Regions from separate parts of the Homo sapiens genome. Here all the other regions are linked to region 1. The links are contacts of gene promoters, found by promoter capture Hi-C in blood cells and fetal thymus (Javierre and others, 2016). All regions are on one chromosome and are shown on one strand. The core of a region is centred on a gene start or on the middle of the fragment in contact, and the rest is flanking DNA. Distances in the headings are between cores, read along the strand shown.

The links. Contacts are between HindIII fragments. The CHiCAGO score rates a contact against its expected background, and 5 or more counts as called.
Region 2: a contact is called between a fragment that was not itself captured here and the fragment with the promoter of GXYLT1 in region 1, in 1 of 17 cell types (megakaryocytes). The highest score is 6.7, in megakaryocytes.
Region 3: a fragment that was not itself captured here is called in contact with the fragment with the promoter of GXYLT1 in region 1 in 1 of 17 cell types (non-activated CD4 T cells); the score reaches 6.3 in non-activated CD4 T cells.

Annotation. Positions count from the first base shown.
Region 1 is chr12:42,142,446-42,147,130 of GRCh38, reverse strand. It overlaps GXYLT1 (glucoside xylosyltransferase 1), which reads left to right and starts at 2,257. Exons shown (of 8, transcript NM_173601.2): 1 at 2,257-2,705. The coding sequence starts at 2,485. RefSeq lists an enhancer at 1,830-1,899 and silencers at 2,060-2,559, 2,640-2,869. The HindIII fragment of the contact is 13,899 bases long and covers 1-4,685 here.
Region 2 is chr12:42,477,935-42,482,619 of GRCh38, reverse strand. All of the region lies in intron 1 of PRICKLE1 (prickle planar cell polarity protein 1), which reads left to right. Among named protein-coding and RNA genes, the nearest start is that of PRICKLE1, 110 kb to the left of the region's middle. RefSeq lists enhancers at 732-1,343, 3,353-3,442 and a silencer at 1,657-1,857. The HindIII fragment of the contact is 1,540 bases long and covers 1,618-3,157 here.
Region 3 is chr12:42,402,714-42,407,398 of GRCh38, reverse strand. The region is part of intron 9 of PPHLN1 (periphilin 1); the gene reads right to left. Among named protein-coding and RNA genes, the nearest start is that of PPHLN1, 79 kb to the right of the region's middle. The HindIII fragment of the contact is 3,002 bases long and covers 581-3,582 here.

The DNA.
Region 1 (4,685 bases), core at 1,008-3,507:
AGCTCCTCCAAGATAGCCAGTTAAGATGATGTGTGAGTAATAGAAAAATCATTTCTATTTTTGGAATGGTTTATATAATTTTTCAACAGAAAATTACAGGATTAGAAGGAACCTAAAAGGATGATATGGTCCAGTACCCTGACGTCAATAAATGAGTGGCTATTTTTCCTGATTTGCTCTTTTCATAAAATTGTTGCAGAAATGAAAACTGCTTGCCTTCTCTTTTTGCCATTCCATTATTTTAACCATCTGTGGGTCAAGGAGTTATTCTTAATTATTACTACGTTTAGTTTCTTTGTTGAAATAGAGAAGAGTTATAGTTAGTATCTTTTAAATTAAACATTTTTTGAGTACTAGCTCTTACTCTAGTTTCTTGGTACCATATCTTTCAGCTTTCTCTCAAAAGGTATTTTCATTCTTATCAATGCTTTTCCTATCATTCTGGATACTTCGTTAAGTTTATCTTCATTTCTCTAAGAAGTGTAAGGTGTAGTGGAAGTATTAATTTAGTATACTTGTGGTTTCTATTTGCCTGTTTTCCCTTTGAGAGCAGTACACTCCTTTTATTTCTGAATACTCTGCATCAGAGCCCCTTGTCTGGCATGTAGAATATGTTCAATAAATGTTTATTGAATGCATAAATGTATGTTCTCATTCTCTTTACACATCTTGATAGCATGCTAATGTTCATTTTTTATCAGGTAAAGCAAGAAGGGGAGGAAGTTGAACCTTAAATTTGTTTAGTGACTTTATCATGGTCACAGAACCACTACTTTTTTGGTATAGGGAGCCAAGGATCCAAATGGAGACTGCTACTATTTTGCGCAGCATTTCCCCACCTTGTATCTCATGGCCAAACTTTTCAACGCCCCAGATGCAATTTCAGCAGTTAAACGCATGATTTTTCCCCATGAATGTGTGTTCGTGTGTGTGTGTATTTTTAAGTATCCCTTCCCTCACTTTTTGGCACTGGTGCTGCTTTCTGCCTCCAATCTCTCCTCTCTCTGTTTCAGCCTCCACACTACAGCCAGAATCTGCTCTCTAAAATGCAATTGTGATCATGTTACTTCCCTATTTAAAAACCCTTCAATGGTTCACTAATGTCTTGCAGATTAAATTCAAACTCCTTGGTGTGCTAAACAAAGCACTCAAATATCTGGCCCCTTCTACGCGCTTATCGCTCATCATACCCTCTCTTGCATTCACTTAGCTGGTGGTATCAAACTTCTCAACAGTTCCCTACACAAGAGCCTGTTTATTGATCCTTCAGCCTGGAATTACTTCCCTTACCCGACTCAAGACTCTAGCGCCACCTTTGCTATGAAGTCTCTCTTGACCATACTCACAGATAGAACTGATTGTTCCTTTGTGTGTATGCCCACACCCTTACAGGCCTGGATCTTAAGTCTGTTATCACTGCGTTGCGCTTATTTACAAGTATCCGCTGTCCCACCCACGCTCCACTTAGGCCTCTTTATACCCCTAGGTACTCACACAGAGCTTGGCACAAGTGATGCTTTATAAATGGTCAATGAATGAACGTAGTGGAAACACAGAAGAAGAGGGAGAAGAACTGGGGAAGAAAGAAGCTCTGTGGAGAGAATACTAATTGTTTTGCACATGAAAATAATGAGTTGTGAGGGAGGTCAAAAAGGTCAAAGGGAAGAGCCCTGCCTTACAGGAACTCACTGTCTGCTGGGAGGCAAGAGGTAAGGTCCGCATACCAAACACACGAAGCAATGAGCTTATCGGGGTGAAAATGGCTCGTGCACATTATAGTATCACAGAAACTTAGAGGCTGGGGGAGGATGGAGAGGAAACTGGCCTAGTCAAGTGTCTTCTAAGTGTTAGGCGGTTTTCGAGCGTTAAACAGTTTAATCTTTACAACCACCCCATGATGAGGATAGTAGCTCCATTTTAGGGACGAAGAAACATGCTCAGAGAATTTAGGTTGCCCAATGTCACAAACTACCATGTGGAAGGACCATAATTAGAATTTAGGTCAACTGCCTCCAGAGCCCTGAGGCTTTCGCTCCCCCTCTCTCGGCGGTCGAGACCCACAGGGCTCCCATTCACCTGCGCGTCGGCCTGCGCTAGCTATAGCCCTCAGGCGCGCCGCGTTCCGCGCACTCACACCACCCTCTGCGCGCCAGCCCTGCGTCCCTCCCACGCGAACTGCGCCGGCGCGTCCAGCCCTCCCGCCCGGGGGAGGGGCGGGGTTGCGTCGCTGCCGCTGACCCTTGAGCGCGCGGCGGCAGAGGCGGTGTCCAGGCTTCCGGGCGGGTAGTCCTTCGGCTCCGGAGCCGCGACTGCGCTCGCCTAGGTGGTGGGCGGGGAGGGAAGGAAGGGAGCGGGCGCAAGGCGGCGGCGGCGGCTGCGGGTGAGGAACTTGTTGCGCCCGCGGCTGCGCGGTGCCCCTCCCTCCGCTCCAGTTCGTCGGGGCGGGCGCGGCGGCGGCGGCGAAGGAGGAGCGCGGCCGGGGCGATGCGGCGCTACCTGCGCGTCGTGGTGCTGTGTGTGGCCTGCGGCTTCTGCTCGCTCCTTTACGCTTTCAGCCAGCTCGCCGTGTCCCTGGAAGAAGGAACGGGCGGCGGTGGCGGGAAGCCGCAGGCCGCGGTGGCTTCCTGGCTCGCGGGCGGCGGACGCGGCGCCGTGAGAGGCGCCGGCGTCGCGGGCCCCGCAGCGCATCCCGGCGTGTCGGACAGGTACGGGCAGTTCCCGGTGTGGGGGACGCGGCGGGCGCGGGGCGCTGGGCGCGGGCTCGGCCTAGCCCGGGCTGCTCGCCGGTGGGTGCCGCGTCTCCCGCGTCTTTCCTCCTGTCTCTGACCCCTCACTCATTTCCCTCCTTCCCCTCCGGCCGGGGCTAAACCTGCGCTGCTCCCGCCTGAGAGTGTCCTACACTTTCTGTGTTTATCTTTTGACCCAGTCATGCGCCCTTTAAAGCAGTTAGAAATTAATTTTCAACTTTTTAAAAAGAGGGTTCTTTGAAAATAAGAGGTGTCCACAAAAGCCTTACTGCTGCCTGGCTAGTGAGAATTTCCTCTTGTTTCAGTGGAGTTCAAGTTGAGATATTTAAACATGAGGCTGGCGCCCTAGTTCAGTGTTTAAGGATTGTGTGTGTGTGTGTGAGTGTATATGTGTGTGTATTTTGTCCCTCATGCTGATTTTCCTGTGTTAACGCTTACACTTCTAAGTATTAGCCATGGTTAGTTAAATTTGGAAATGGCATTTGTGCGGGTTGTGAAATTTTCTTTTGGAAACACTCAGTTTATTAAGAAACTTAGAGCAAATTAAGAAAAATGAGCGATACTTGGCGTGCTCAAGTCTGTTGTTGGATGGGATGGAGTTACCTTTCTTGACAAATTGGTATTTAAAAAGCGACGTAATGACTTAGGACGTAATCACTGCCAGAGTGGGAATCAACATGAGATTTAAATAGAAAAAAAATGTTTCTGTCAACGCATTATGAATGCTTGAAATCTGAGCGTTTGCACTGCCTTGCAACATGGACACTTCCACCTTATGTATGGGCATCTCTCTGGGAATGACCTGAAGTGCTCCCTACCAAGACTTGGCAAATGCTGCTTTGATATAGAGAAGTATAGGGTTTGTCGGAAGAGGGAGTATAGATCAGTTGTGGGCTGTTGTTTAACATCATTTTGAGAGTCGATGGTCATTCCCAGAATGAAAGGGGAAAGTTTGGGCAGAGGAGCAGCGTGGAAAGCGGACTTGTCATGTTTTTACCCTGAGATTTGATTACAGTCAGGGTAATTCCTACATCAGGACCCTCAGTTGTCTGTCCTGGGAGAAAGCAGTCACTGAAGACTTGAATGAGCTCGTGAAAAATGACAGGTTGAAGCTAAACTGTTTATGGCCTAGTATGTTATTGTGAAGCATTTGCAATTATGGAAAAGGAATTATTTTTATATGGGGTAGAATTGTAAGGAAGCAACATTTTAATTAAATATTGAATGAAATTAGACTGATGTTAACATCACATTTTTAGTGCCTTGGTCTTAGATATTTTATTTTGTGACAGAAATTTACAAATTTTGTTTGCTTGACCAGCTAATTTTAATAAAATTATTTGAAATTTTCGAAAATAGCCTCAGTTTTAATAAACATCCAATATAATCATTACTGAAACGTTAAGTTTTATGTGTCAGGATTGAGTCAACCGAAATACTGTACTTTTTTAGGTCCTTTGAGTAGCATTACTCTTTATTTTAAATGAGGCGTACATCTAAGTTAGAACTATAGGTGTATTTATCTCTCTTTGTAAAAATGTGATGAAGAACAGCATGTCACCACATTTGCGCGCATAAGAAACCATTTGGGCAGGGGAACAACGTGGAAAAGTTGGATTGTGAAGTTTTACTCTATGGTTAGATTAAGATCACGCAAATTACTAAGACCTCAGGACTCTATTTTGTATATCGTCATTTATAACATCTTTATAGAAATGTCATAGAATTAAATCAACTTTTGGCAACGCTCGGTAGCTCACGCCTGTAATCCCAGAATTTGGGGAGGCTGAGTGGGGATGATTGATTGCTGGAGGCCAGGAGTTTGACACCAGCCTCGTCAACAACCCATCTTTACAAAAAATAAAAAAATTAAAAAAAAATTAACTGAATGTGGTGTTTCACACCTGTAATCCCAGCACTTTGGGAGGCTAAGGTGGG
Region 2 (4,685 bases), core at 1,138-3,637, 340 kb before region 1:
CTTGTTTCAAATGGGTGCTGTAAGTTTCACAAAGAGGAGTGTTGTTCAGGAGCCAACAGGTGACGGGGCGAAACCTGAGTCTGTGTGTACATTGGAGTCAAGTCTGGCTGCCGTTTCCTCGGGCCACTGTTGAAAATAGAAATCCAAAAAATCAATAGAAGACTGAGGAGAACACGATTTTGAGAAAATATCTGCATCCCCCATTATGGAAAATAATGGGCTCATTAGAGCACCGCCTTGTGTGGTGCCCCTCATTCCATGGCATGCATTTTGGATTTTGTCTTTACATACTCGTGTGCGGATAATCTGACCCTAGAAGCGCCGCGCTGGCGGAGGACCAGGCTTTGTCGTCATGTTTCCTCCTTTTGTTTCTTACTGTCATGGAATGTACTTGTGCATGAAATTAGAATGCTTTGAAAGAGTTCCACATTTCCTCTTGGAAAAATGGATAGTTTCTTGACCATTGGGTGATGTGTGATAGCCCACTCAGCTGTTGGGAAATGTACAAGCTGGATGGAGGTTTACCTCGAAAATGCTGGACGGAGGTTTACCTGGAAAATACAGAAAATACTAAAGGGCATATGGCCTAATGCCACTAATTGCTCGTATGGAAAACTTAGTAAAGGAATGTTTCATAAACAATATCTCCTGATAACTTCATTATGTTTTTATTTTTCAAATAAGTGAAATTGAATTGGGCTTTGTTGGCAGTGACTTTGTCTTTAGTAGACAGTAAGCACTGAATGCCCCTTGAGTGTGTGAAACCTTTAAAGAAATGACAGTTTAGTGTCTCTTTTACTGGAAAATTCACATCTCGATTGAAGTTAAGGACATCCTAAACAAGGAAATGTGTATATCCATAAGGGTGGTATATTTTGTATTGTGAAAAGAATGGATGTGTGACATGTTTCTGTACTGCTAAATTAGTCTGTAGTTAAATTTAATTCACCTGCATATGTAGTCTGGGAGAATTGGAGTAGCTTTTGAATGGAGAACCTGTGATCTGCATCTTCCATGCACTAAGGCCTTGTTAACAAGCAGTTTAACAAAGAAGCTGTTAAGCAGTTTGTAGCCCACGGATGGCACTTAGCAGCAGGGGACACCTAGGGAATGTTGGCCTAACTGACTTCACAAATCAGTATCTGTTCTGGCTTTTGGTGATCAGAGGATTTCTAACTTCCCTGGGCATGTTCACACAAGAAATACTTTTTCATAGGGATCTTACAATGCCATGGTAGTCTTCATATAGGAACTAGAGTGGGATTGCATTGGAGAAAAAAATGTAATTAGGGATATGACCTTATACTTCATTTTCAATGGCAGGCCCTGACAATTACTGTTTTCTATTTGCATGATTTTGATTTGGTGACTTGGTTCAAGAAAATTATGAATAATAGGAATCATACCAGACCTGATATACAGTTACAACCTCAATATGTATCTGATTAAACTCATTCTCCTGAAATCCCTCAAATCCTCACTCCCCTTCTGAGTTGCCCTAAGGTACTTATGTATTGGTATGTCAATCACCTAATACTCAAAACTGTCTTTGGCCCAATTTCTTCCTTTCCTATTAGTTCCTTTTACTTTCCCTCCCCAAGTCACTATGTGTAAGCTTTCTTAGGGACAGTGTACTAATTGGCCCCTCTCAGGTTCTTTATCTTTTTCCTGACCATCACTACCATATTAATCTTCTTTAAGACCCAGAAGTATCTTGTGGCAGTCTCCATTCATGTCTTTTGCAGCTTCCCATTGCCTGTAGTGATAAGCCCACAGTTTTCTGCCTGAAATGTGTAATTCTTGAAAATAGGATTCAGACACCATTGCCATCTGTTGTTGCTTCTTTGGAAGAATCTGTCTTCTAGCAAAACCGTCCACTCTTCACTGCCTCTGGACCTTCATATACTGTGCTGACTTATTAAGCTCTTTACAGAAACATAGTTATGGCTCATTTATGTATATGTCAAGGTCAATCAAGATAATAATCCTTAGCTATCCTGGAAGCAGCATACAGACCAGTAGAAAATGAAATGATCCCCAAGTGGCCAAAATAGCATAACGAAATAATAAACCTTCTCTTTAGTTTGAATAACACCTTCTCACACTGTATGCTATCTTATTTCACCAGTGGTTACTGTGCTTATAGGAGAAGTCCTTAAGCCCTTGTCCATGCCATAATTACTACATAGATTTTTTTTTGGGACAGGGTCTTGCTGTATTGCCCAGGCTGGTCTCAAACTCCTGGGCTCAAGCAATCCTCCCACTTCAGCCACCAGGTAGCTGAGAGTATAGGCATATGCCCAGCTTCTGTGTACTTTTAGACAAACTTTTTCAAAGAATGGTTGCCTAATACCGGAAGCAACAAATTTTGAAAGGTTTGGAGGTTGTTGGCTGTGGGCAAAAGAGAAAGGCACCTTAATAAGAGACAGGTAGCAGGGATCAAAACATTATGAGAGCAGGGAGAAAAAAACCTACAAAAAGTTTGCTAGTTATCATAAATGTATGGGTCAGGGGCCATTCTGTTTCTTGAATCCCGAAGCCAGTGTTTTCTACTGTGCTCAAAATGAAAACAAATGATCAGCCGAAGGCTAAATCACATATAATTTTTACACGTGCCACCACGAAAGAAAGCAAGGAGATGAATAATGGAATTTTTTTTTTTTTTAAGATGGAGTTTCGCTCTTGTTGCCCAGGCTGGAGTGCAATGGCATGATCTTGGTTCACTGCAGCCTCTGCCTCCCAGGTTCAAGCAATTCTCCTGCCTCAGCCTCCCAAGTACTGGGATTACAGACATGCGCCACCATGCCCGGCTAATTTTGTATTTTTAGTAGAGATGGGGTTTCACCATGTTGATCAGGCTGGTCTCGAACTCCTGACCTCAAGTAATCCACCCACCTTAGCCTCTATAGTGCTGGGATTACAGGCATGAGCCACTGCACCCGGTGGCTACATTTCTTTCTAAGTTCTGGCTTTTAATGGAATAAATGTCAGTTGGCTCCTTTTGGCATTCCCCAGAACCGTTCAATAACAACTTTAAATATAAGGATGAATGAATGAATGCAGTGAATGAACCTAGAAAGTAAATTTCACAAAGGAACCCCTCATTATATCACTGTGTTATATGAATAAGGCCATACTTGAATTTGGGGAACAAGCTTTACCTAGAAAAACTGTCATGCTCCATAGACCACTACACATGCTGTGTGCGAATGTGTGCACGCACACACGCTATGTGTATGGTATTGGAGGCTTTATGTGGGGACTGGTTAGAAGCTGCTACCGAAGCAGCTGGAAACGTTGGTCAATAACTTGGCAAAATTGTCTGCCGTTCAGAAGGCTAGAGCTCTCGCAAGCTCAAAAAGAAGATGAAACTCAGGTTTTGTTATTAACATATTGTTTCAATTCCATTTGTCACTGGTTAGCTTCAAGAAAGTCTGTTTAGTCCCAGTGGAAGCAGCAATGCCAATTGGTACGTTGCAATAGGAGCTTTAATTCTTTATGGTCGTGAAATTCTTTTCTGTTTTAAAACATCCTTAGACCATCTTTGGAAGGCAAATAGTGGCTATTTTTTAAAATCAGGTCTCAAGATGTTTGTTGACTTGTCAAAGCTTTGAAGACATCAGGACCAAGTTTACTGAATGCTGAGAGCATCAGATTCCATTCCCTAAGTATAGCCCTTATCCTTTGGGTCAGATGTTCTCTTGACAATGATGATTGAGAAGTCTTACATCTGTTAGCTGCTTGTCTTTGTTTTTAATGATGAGAAATAGCTATTTAACTATTTTGAAGGAAGAGGCGAGAGAAAGGACAAAGGAGGGAAATGGAACTGTTCCATTTTCTATTGCATGGAATAGCCCCATGATATTCCTTGCCTTTCTAAAAAAAAAAAAAAAGAGTATCCCAGCTCTCTCTACATGACCTTGGGCTTCTTTCTCACCTCCCTTGTGACCATACCCTTCTTTTCTGTTTGACATTTATTTCTCTACTTGACTCTGATAGTAGGCTTTTAGTTTTCAAAATAGTGTCTGCAAAGAACTCATGAACCTGCTAGAGAATTAAGTTCTAACAGCAGTTCCTTGTGCTTGACCACCCCCTCCCAATGCCATCTTTGATGGTGGTGGTAGCTGTTAAAAGGTTTTGTGCCCTCCACACACCTCCTTAATGGTCAGACTATTTGGAACCTGAACAAACCCATCTCTGAAAACTGTTTTGCTTTTCTTTCTCCTTCATTATGAGGTTTATTTACATTCAAAATTATAGAGAGACACTGGAGAAATAGGATGCCTATTGATTTATTTCCAAACTTAGCACAGGATTGGTTAATGCATAGTTGACATTCATTTATGATTAAGTTTGCTACAGCATTTTAAGACCAAGACAATAAATCTGCCTTAGAATAGTCAAGAATACTGATGTTTTGAGCTGTGGTTAGGTAAAAGAATGTAAAAAAATACACTCTCAAATGGATCCCACAGAAGTGTGTATACATATGAGAGAGAAAGAGGGAGAGGGAGGGAGGATGATGATGCAAAAGCAAATGGAGCAAAATGTAAACCATTGATGAGTCTGGGTAAGGGATGCATCAGAGTTCTTTTACTATTGCAACTTTTTGGAAGTTTAAAGTAACGTCCAAATAAAATTGTACCAAAAAAAAAAAAAAAAAAGTATAGGGCAGGGCCACTGTT
Region 3 (4,685 bases), core at 832-3,331, 260 kb before region 1:
GGAGAGGCCCATATGGCAAGGAAAGGAACCAAAATCTTCTGCCAACAGCATGTGAATGAGCACAGAAGTCAATCTACCAGCTCCAGTCATGTCTGTAACCCTGTAGCCCTGGCTGCCAGCTGAACTACAACTTCTTGAGATATCCTGAGCCAGGATCTCAACAGGCTTTGTTTATTGTCTCTGAGAGTTTGAAAAACTGACTCTAAAATTTCTACAAAATTCAAAGCTCCAAGTACAGACACACTCTTAAAAAAGAAAAACAAGGTAGGAAGACTACCTCTACATATATCAAGACTTATAAAAGCTATAATAATGAAGATGGGGTAGTATTGTTGCAGGATCAACAGACCAATGGAATGGAGTCCAGAAACAGATTCATACAGACTTACATGGATGTCTTATAACTCAGGGGTCAATGCAGAGTAGGGAGAAACATATGATCTTTCCAACAAATGGTTTGGGGTCAAATTGATGTCCAAGTGGAAAAAAATTTTGATCCCTGCTATATTTGATACAAACAATACATAAAATCATTTTCAGATGACTATAACTCAATGTAAAATATAAAATAAAAAAAGCTTCTAGAAATTTTAAATAGTAAGACAAATAACAATAGGAAAGATTGAAAAGTATAGATTACAATAAAATTAAGAACTTTTATTCCCCCAAAGATATCAAAAGAATGCCACAAAATGGGAAAAATATCCACAACACATATAACCACCTTGTATTCAGAATATATAAAGAACTTCTACTAATCAACTGAAAAAAAGATAACTAATTAGAAAAATGGACAAGAATTTCAATAGCCGTTTTACAAAAAAAGGATATTCATGTGCCAATAACCACAGGAAACAGTCCTCAGCATCACTAATCAGGCAAATGCAAATTAAAACCATAAGGAGATACATAACATGTAACAACATCAACGAATCTCATAAACACAATTTTGAACAAAAGATGCTAGACACAAATACTATATTCCATATGATTCTATTTGTATAAAGTTCAAAAACAGAGGCCGGGCACGGTGGCTCACGCCTGTAATCCCAGCACTTTGGGAGGCTGAGGCAGGCGGATCACGAGGTCAGGAGATCGAGACCGTCCTAGCTAACGGGAAACCCCATCTCTACTAAAAATACAAAAAATTAGCCGGGCATGGTGGCGGGTGCCTGTAGTCCCAGCTACTCGGGAGGCTGAGGCAGGAGAATGGCATGAACCCGGAAGGTGGAGTTTGCAGTGAGCCAAGAACGCACCACTGCACTCCAATCTGGGTGACAGAGCAAGACTCTGTCTCAAAAAAAAAAAAAAACCAGACTAAACTATAATGTTAAGAATCAATTTAGTAGTTACCTTGAAGGGGGTAAAGGTTAGGAGGGGAGATGAACGGATTCTTGGGTGCTGGTAATATTCTATTTCTTGCCTTGAATGGTAGTTCTTACAAGTATTTGCTTTGTAGAAAAAATCACTCAGATTAACAACTAGGTTCTGAACACTCTTCTTTCTGTATTACATACATCACTAAAAGTGATTTTAAAAAAAAAGCAAAACATAATAACAAACATAGCAGAGTTTAGCATGGCTAACTTCAGCCAACTGGAAAATTAAATTACACTGAACTGCTCACTTTTCCCCCAAGTTCCAGTAATTGAGGGATTAAAAATCTTAAGATTTGGCTTTCAGGCAGACCAAAAAACCCCTACAAATATTCCCCCAGCTAACTCATGTAAATAAGTATTCAAAACAGAAATAACATATATTGCATTGTCTGATTTCCTATAATGGTTTTCTTTTTAAAACCCCAAAAACATAAAAAATGCAAAAAGAAAGAGGAAGAGTAAGGAAAGAAAAACAACGAAAGATAACATAATTAGCTCCCAATAAACCAGACATTAGACAATCATCAATTCACTTCTAGTGTTTACTTTCAAGTTACCTTTAAGTAAAACATGAGATTTTCTTAGTGCAGCTTTTAAAATGTTTCTTATAAATGGACTGAGAATATCAATTAACTCACACTGTAATTGTAGTCAGCACTCAAGTGCATATAAAACATACACATTTGTTCTCTCCTGGCACAATACCTGAATTAAACAATAGTTAAGAGAGGACAGCAGATGTTTCAAGACAGATCACATCTTAAAAATGAGAGATGACAGATGAAGGGGAAAGTATGAGAACAACTTATGCTTTAGGAAAAGGACGGTAGAGAATTCTAAGGAGGAAACATTAATCTTTTTATGCTATGTGTATACAAGCAAAACAGATAAGGAACACTGAGATAAAAAGAGCAAGCCAAATGAAAAATGTGAAAGCAAAATCACAAAGTCCCCCAAAATAAGCAAAAAAAATTTATTTTATTTTTATTTTTTTAGACGGAGTCTCACTCTGTCACCCAGGCTAGAGTGCAATGGCATGATCTTGGCTCACTGCAACCTCTGTCTCCTGGGTTCAAGCGATTCTCCTGCCTCAGCCTCCTGAGTAGCTGGGATTACAGGCATGGGCCACCACGCCCGGCTAATTTTGTATTTTTAGTAGAGACAGGGTTTCACCATGTTGGTGAGGCTGGTCTTGAACTCCTGACCTTGTGATCCGCCTGCTTCAGCCTCCCAAAGTGCTGGGATTACAGGTGTGAGCCACCATACCCGGCTGCAAAACAAATATTTTTTAATAGTATTTTTACATTTCATTTTGAACAAATTAGGAAGGAGGTGGGGAAAAGGAAATAAACAACAACAAAACAAAAGAAGTGAAGAGGTAAGAGGCAAATAGTCGAAACCTTGACACTGACCAGAAAATCACCTTTCAGAGGTAAACCTATATCACAAACTTGCTATGAAATATTTTTGTTGTTGTTGTTGTTGTTGTTGAGACGGAGTTTTGCTCTTGTTGCCCAGGCTGGAGTGCAAGGGCGCAATCTCGGCTCACTGCAACCTCTGCCTCCCAGGTTCAAGTGATTCTCTTGCCTCAGCCTCCTAAGTAGCGAGGATTATAGGCACCCACCACCATGTTGGGCTAATTTTTGTATTTTTAGTAGAGATGGTGTTTCACTATGTTGGCCAGCCTGGTCTCGAACTCCTGGCCTCAAGTGATCCACCCGCCTGGGCCCCCCAAAGTGCTGGGATTACAGGCGTGAGCCACTGTGCCCAGCCTAAAATATTCTTAAGAAGTAATTTGAAAGTAATCAATATTGCAAAGCTGCAAAGAAACAGGCAGAAAGTATTACTTAACACTACCATTAACCACCTGTATGGTAATTTTCATACATAAACGGCTTTCACATATAATAGGTTGTCAATTCTGTGAGAGAACTTATAATTAGAGAATGCAGTGAGACCTCGTTTCAAAAAAAAGAAAAAAAAAAAAGAGGAAAAGGTCTCTAAGATGTGAAAACACTAAGTGTTCATTATACCATGCCATTTATAAATGTCCTTACCATAAAATACTCAGAGACTAAAAAAAATTGTTGACCTAAGAAAACAAAATTGAGTAGCATGGGACAGTAATTTGGAACCACTAGGTAAAATCCTTACCTAACACTGGTAGAGAGTGGATGAGGAGAAGAGGTAAGAAAATGAAGCTTATACTTGGGTTTATGCCATGGGGATTACCTTTACTGGAACTGCTTTATAACTGGGTATTTTTTGTTTCAGTGGTAACATCCCCAAGGATAAGGTGCAAGATGGCCTCATCCCTTAAGGTACTCATATCATTTTAAGTATGGTTCTAATAAGACTTGGTATCTGTACTATCTAGATTTTATATTTGATGTAAATATAACATCTTAACAGATTCATCAAGCTTCCCACTTAAAGAGATATCAGGTACAAAATAACTAAATTACCTTTAAGAGATGCTTCCTTTTAAATATGATACAAATTATCTTATAGAGATAGCTTTTAGATTCTCTTAAAATAAAAACTTTATACTTTTACTTCAACAAGCTTCTGCAGTAACAGCATGACCAGAATCTGGTAAATTGTAACTTTCAAACTCTTTGAAATTTGGTCAAAATAAATCATCTCTTTTCAAGTTGTTTTGGGAATCCAGACTTTCAGAGGTACATCTTATGTGAGTATATTTTACTAACTGTATGTATGTAAAATCTGAACAAGTGGTTGGTAATAATGGATTGTTAAATACAGTAGGGTAGACTTGATGTCTAGACAAGATAGTGGTGAGAGCTGCACTTTAAAGAACATTGGTTACTTGCTCTGATAAAAAGGAAAAACAAAGAATGTTTCTATTATGTAAGGTTACTATGAAATGCTTAGATCTTGAACCTACAACAATAGATACAGCTGCCACTACTTTGAAAACAATTTCATTGGAATGCATCATATGCTAAAAGCTGATTATTTTCCATGTCCACAACTCTAGTTAACATTTTCAAGACTGTACATTTCACTAATCTTTACTTCTAGCCTCTTTAAATGTAAAACAAAAACAGATTATATATGAGAAACAGCAAGAGCTAGTGAGTGTTGGGAATCATCAGACAATGAGTAGTAGCTGAAATGAGACACTGTAAGAAGAGAAAATGGCCACAGCTACAACACTTACAATTAAATCTAACACCCTATCTACGGAAGAAAACCTGCTCTGCACAATTCATTAACTCAACAAATACTAATTACTGACTGACACATAACAGTGGTATATTCGAAGGTTATTTAAAAACTTAT